Regions from separate parts of the Homo sapiens genome. Here region 2 is linked to region 1. Evidence: promoter capture Hi-C in 16 types of primary human blood cells and fetal thymus (Javierre and others, 2016). All regions are on one chromosome and are shown on one strand. Each heading gives the region's core, a stretch centred on a gene start or on the middle of the fragment in contact. The rest is flanking DNA. Distances are from core to core; before and after follow the strand shown.

Evidence for each region. The method cuts DNA at HindIII sites, captures the fragments that hold promoters and counts their contacts. A CHiCAGO score of 5 or more calls a contact.
Region 2: a fragment that was not itself captured here is called in contact with the fragment with the promoter of FARP1 in region 1 in 1 of 17 cell types (M0 macrophages); the score reaches 5.7 in M0 macrophages.

What each region holds. Positions count from the first base shown.
Region 1 is chr13:98,141,629-98,144,552 of GRCh38, forward strand. FARP1 (FERM, ARH/RhoGEF and pleckstrin domain protein 1) reads left to right here and starts at 1,466. Exons shown (of 27, transcript NM_005766.4): 1 at 1,466-1,864. LOC105370328 (a long non-coding RNA gene) reads right to left here and starts at 2,282. Exons shown (of 3, transcript XR_931670.4): 1 at 2,211-2,282. RefSeq lists silencers at 917-966, 1,207-1,516. The HindIII fragment of the contact is 2,199 bases long and covers 929-2,924 here.
Region 2 is chr13:98,674,521-98,677,444 of GRCh38, forward strand. No RefSeq gene overlaps it. Among named protein-coding and RNA genes, the nearest start is that of SLC15A1, 77 kb to the right of the region's middle. The HindIII fragment of the contact is 2,989 bases long and covers 1-2,897 here.

The DNA of each region.
Region 1 (2,924 bases), core at 216-2,715:
AGAAATGCAAACTCTCAGGCCCCACCCCAAACCTACTGAATCGGCAGCTCTGGGGATGGAGCCTGACAGTCCTTTATCCCTGCAGGCGATTCAGATGCTTGCTAAGGTTTCATTAGGTAGGTCGGGGATGCGGCCCAAGAATGTTCATTTCTTGACGTTTCCAGGGGCTGCTGGTGGTGGTCGTGGTCTGAGAACCACACTTAGAGAATCACGAGCAGAAAAAAATCTGATCTGTGACACACAGCTGGTTGGGCTGACAGAGCAAAGCCTCAAACCCACCATTTCTTCTCTTCAACCACAGACCACCAAATCTGCAAGTATTACATCTCTGCTCCTCCCCAGGAGCTGCCCACAAGCACCCCCTACTTCCAAGACCCCTGTTCTTGTCTCAACCCGCCCTTCTATCAGGGTCCCTACACTCCACTTCTGCCCAGCTCCTGTCCAGCTGTGAGTTCACTTGAGGCCTCTCCCGTGAAATCTGCCCTCTCGGTCTGAGGTCAGGGAACTCCTGTAAGACGCAAAAGGCCCACGGTTCTGAGCCAGTGGCCTCCGAAGGCCGGAATCCGCTAGCCCCGGGTCTGGCAGAACGTCACTTGCTGCGCCCTAGGCCTCTTCCCGCCACGCTTAGAGAGAGGGACTGGAGGCTCAGAAGGGGGAAGAGAAGGTAACGCGGCAGCTGCTGGGTGGGGACGGTGACTGTGCCCCTAGATCGCTGCCTCCTGGGTCCTGAATCTTGCTCCCCGCTCCGTAGAGTTCCCGAAACCCCGAAGGCTCTCAAGCACCGCAAGCCACTCCTAACCTCCCCCACGCCATTCCCCAAGGGCACTGTCCCCCGAGGCTGGGCGGGCGGGAACTGTCATGGGATTCGCTCGGGCGGAGGGCGCTGGGCCAGGACGTGGGCGGGCGCGGGGTGGCCGCCGCTCCCCCAAGCTTAAGTCCCGCGCAGCCCGGGGTGGTGCCGGAAGCCCGTGCCTGTGGCTCCGGGGGAGGGGAGGGCTCGGTGGGTCCCTGAAGACTGTCCTCCCCGCGCGACGTCGCAGGCGAAGCAGCCCCAGGCAGGACCTCAAAAAGCGACCTGCAGAGTCCGAGCCCCTGACCGCCCGCCTGCCGCTCCCGGCTTCGCCGTGCACACGTCTCCCGCTCTCCCCGGTTCGTTTTTCGCCACAGCTGCTGGATTCGCGTCTCGCCAGTGGCGCTCCCCGCGCTGCATTAGGTAGCGCCGCGCGGAGCCCGGCCCTGGCCGGAAGCCCAAGAGAGGCGCAGATCCCCGGCGGCGCGCTGGGCTCGGGAGGCCCCTGGGCGCACCTGCCCGGGCGGAGCGGAGCGGGGCGGGGCGGGCGCAGGGCGCGGGCCCGGACGCTGGAGGGGGCTGTGGCTCTCCCGCGTCCCCGCTGCTCGGGCTGCGCGGCGCCCGCCTCCCCCCGCCGAGGGGCCGGCCCAGACCCGGGGAGGGGCGGTGGCCACTGCACTTCCCGCTCGCCGGCCTCAGAGGCGGCGGGTCCGGCGCGGGCGCAGCGGTGCGGGCGCTCGGCTGGGGCGCGGGGCGGGGACGCGGCCGCTGCCCGCTTTGCGCCGCTCCTCCCTGCGCGAGTAGCGCTGGCCCCGGCGTCGAGGCGGCCATGGCGACCCGGAGCCCGCTCCCCACCCACCCCGCCTGCTCCGCCCTCCCCTCCGCCCCGCGCCACCTTTGATGGCTCGGACCTCAGCCGGCCACCGCCAGCCCTGCTCGCGCGCCCGCGCCGCCGCCGCCCGCGGGTATTAATAGCCGGCGCCGCCGCGCCCTCGGCCGCCGGGGGCTTGGGAGCCGCCGATCCCGGAGCCCGAGCCGGGAGAGGGAGCCGCCGCAGCCGCCGGCGCTGTGGAGGTAGGAGGCGCGCGGTGAACAATGACCGCGGCGGGAGGGCGGGGGCCGGCGGGGTCCGGGCCGCGGGCGGCAACTTGTGCGAGTCCAGGCTCCCGCAGCGCACGGCCGCGGCTGCGGGCGAAGGTGGGCGCGTGGTCCCCGAGGTCCTGCCCTGCGCAGTCGGGCGGCGGGTCGGGCCCGGGCAGCCCCGGCCACCATCGCAGGAGCTCGGGGGCCTCGGGGCTCCGGGCTGCCCCCTGCGCCCCTCTCCCCTCACCTCCGCCGACGTCGGGCTGCGGGGCTCCGCGCCGGTCCCCGCTCGCCTCCCCCGACCCCGGCGCCCTTCCCCCGTTTCCTTCCGTCCTACCCGCCCGCTGACAGCGCTGGACGCCGCTTCCGGACCTCGGGCCGCAATCTCGGCCCCTGAGGCCGGTTGCGGGCCGGGGAGGTGGCCGCTGGCGCGGATGCCGCCGGGTGCCCGCCGCTCGCCCACGCGCGGCGCGAGGGTTCCCGGCGGGTGACAAAGAGGAACACACCCTCTGCCCAAGTTAGATTTGTGTCTCTCTTTACTGTCTGCCTTTATGCAGGGCAAAGTTTTTTTTATTTTTTATTTTTTAAAGCAAAGGACAGATTGCTTTGCGGCGAGTATTTCCAAACAACTTCTGATTGTGGTTTTACGATTCAAGTTCCGGAAACTTTAGCTGTGTGATCCGGCTGGACCCCGGAGACTCTGTGTGTGTGTGTGTGTGTGTGTGTTTTATTTGAGGGGGGGAAATACGAATTCCCTGTAATGAGTCTGGATCTCGTTTGTGGCAGCTGGAGGCCAGCGGCTGTTGGGGATCGAGTAGGGTTCCCCAGAAAGGAGGGAGCTGAGGCTCACAAAGAAGCGAGGCCCTGGTATCTGATCAGTTCGTGGAGACGTGGGAGAGCCTGCTTGTCATCTGGAACAGTTTAGCAGCCTCGGCCTCCCTGTCTCTCCCAGCCCTGGGGAGTACCGGTGGCCTCTGGCCGTTTCATTATATTGTTGTTAAGGCTCTTCTCCTTGTCAGTTTACCAGGTTTGACCGCCCAGCCCTGGTCTC
Region 2 (2,924 bases), core at 153-2,652, 530 kb after region 1:
AGGATGCTGATATGCTTACCTCCAAGGGCTGCTCAGGGTATTAAATGAATAAAATGCTCAAAGCCCTTAGAACAGGCCATGCTGAAAGTAGCAAATATCTTTCTCTTGTCTCCCACATTTCATCTGTCAGAGAATCCTGTTGGCTCCATCAACCTCCAAAGTATATCCAGAATCCCACCACTTCTCACCACCACACTGCCACCTACCTAGCCAGAGCCACCCTCCTGGAAGGTCACTTGGGAACCTGCATGGACACTTGGCCCCTTTCAGTTTATTCTTTTTTTTTTTTTTTTTTTTTTTGAGACGGAGTCTCGCTCTGTCGCCCAGGCTGGAGTGCAGTGGTGCGATCGTGGCTCACCACTGCTCCGAACTCCTTGGCTCAAGGAATCCTCCTACCTCAGCTTCCTGAGGAGCTGGGATCACAGATGTGTGCCACCATACCTGGCTAATGTTTAAATTTTTTGTAGAGATGCGGTCTCCCTATGTTTCCCAGGCTGGTCTCCAACTTCTAGGCTCCAAGTAATCCACCTGCCTCAGCCTCCCAAGTACCCAAGTGGCTGGGACTACAGACGCGCCACCACGCCCAGATCACTTTATTCTTAAGACAGTAGCTAGAGGGGTCCTGCCACACAGCAGTCACGTGACTTCTAGGCTCAAAACCCTCTGTAGACATCTCAAAAGCCCAGGCTTTCACCCTGGCCTGCCCAACATGAAAGACACACCCTTTCTCTCCGCCCTCAGCAACTCGCTCCCCTCACTCCCCTGATCCTGTGTGCTGACCTCTCGCTCTCCCTCCTTCCCCCTCCCCACATCCTGTATGCCGGCCTCTCGCTCCCCTCACTCCCCTGATCCTGTGTGCTGGGCTCTGGCTCTCCCTCACTCCCCCTGATCCTGTGTGCTGGCCTCTCAAAGACACCAGGCATGCCCCGCCTCCGGCCTTTGCACGGCTGCCCCTCTGCCAGGCACTCTCTGCCCTCACCTTGTTGAAGTGGCTGCTCACATGCCACCATCCCAGGAAGCGCCCTCTGACCATCCTTTTCAGTCACAACCTCTGTCCCTCTGCTCTATTTTTTTTTTTTTAGATCCATGGCACCCAACACCTCCTACTATACCACATCATTTTCCATAATTTCCTTATTCAGCCCATTTGTTGCTTATGGTTCATCGGCTGCTGCGAGAATGCGAGTGTGCACAGAGGCAGGGGTCTGGCTTCTTTTTGTTCTGGGAGGTATCCCACCTGCCTGGCATGTGTCTGCCCTTGGTGCATGCTCGGTAAGCATGGGTAGAACAACTAGCACAGGGCAAGGGCTCACCCAGGGGCCTTTCTTGGCACCACAAGGGCCTTACCCCAACCCTGGGAAGCGGGCACTGTCTTTATTTTACAAATGGTGACGTTGACGCCTCCAGCGGCCTGCCCAAGCTCACAGCTCAAGGAAGGGAAGAACCAGGAGCATGATGTGTTTCCACCCTCGCCCTGCAGTCTCGCTGCAGCCCCACCCTCCCGAAAGCACGCGTTCACCCAGGCTGCAGGGTCTCTCCCTGTGTCCGCTTCTTGCCAGCACCTGCCTGCTGCCCGACCCCTCCCGCCTGCAGGCAATTTGCCCGTCTCCACTTGCCAGAGGCACCTCCCAGGCCACACCACAGAAAGCCTGCACACTCCGATTTACCTCCATGTCCCGTGTTGGTCACTGCTGTGGTTTGGGAGCCACCGCCCTCTGCTACTGACTTGGTGCCTTCCTGGACCTCCCTAGTGGGCTCATCTGTTTCATCTTTCTGTACACTCATTAGGGAAGATGGGCACACACACACAAGCACCCACGCACGCACGCACGCACGCACACTCTCTCGCTCCTGCTGTAGGTCCTTAGCAACTAACGACTAGTTGTGCCTGTTAGTAGCTGGGTGGGACTTATTCCAGATCCTTTCCAGGTTTGTAAATCAAATCAAGGACCTGAGTCAGACTCCGGACTTACTGAAGTTCAACCTTCCTGAAGACGAAAACAGGCTGAGCAGCATGGATGGCAAGGCCGTCTCTGCCCCAAGGCACCAGCTGGCGGACAGGATCTCGGTTCCATCTACCAGCCACTGCAAAGCAGGGACATGTGTGTCAACCGGGCCCTGGGACAGGTGGTCTGGGCCTCCCCTCTCTTCCCTGTGGTGATGGGGACAGGGAACTTTGTAGGAGAAACCTACGAAATGGAAACTGTGAAGGGAAATGCTTTTTTTTTTTTTTTTTTTTTAATGAGATGGAGTTTCACTCTTGTTGACCAGCCTGGAGGGCAGTGGGGCGATCTCGGCTCACTGTAACCTCCACCTCCTGGGTTCAAGTGATTCTCTTGCCCCAGCCTCCTGAGTATCTGGGATTACAGGTGCCTGCCACCATGCCTGGCTAATTTTTGTATTTTTAGTAGAGATGGGGTTTTGCCATGTTGGCCAGGCTGGTCTCGAACTCCTGGCCTTGGGTGATCAGCCCACCTTGGCCTCCCAAAGCGCTGGGACTACAGGCATGGGCCACCGTGTCCAGCTGGGAAATGCTTTCCTTGACTCAGTGCTAGGAGTAGGATGGCCCCAAGCACAAAGGGCTGCTTAGTCAATCCTCTGACTGCCAGAAGGTACAAAGCTCTTAGAGCCTGACATGGTTTGGATGTGTGTCCCCTCCAAATCTCAGGTTAACTGTGATCCCCAGTGCTGGAGGTGGGGCCCAGTGGGAGGTGTTTGGGTCATGGGGGTGGGTCCCTCCTGAATGATTTTGTGCCATCCCCTTGGTGATGAGTTGTCGCTCCGTTAGTTCACATAAGACCGGGTTGTTTAAAAGTCTGGGATCCCCCCACTCTCTCTCATTCCCACTCTTGCCATGTGATGGGCCTGCTTCGGCTCTGCCTTCCGCCGTGGTTGTAAGCTTCCAGGGGCCTCGCTAGAAGCCA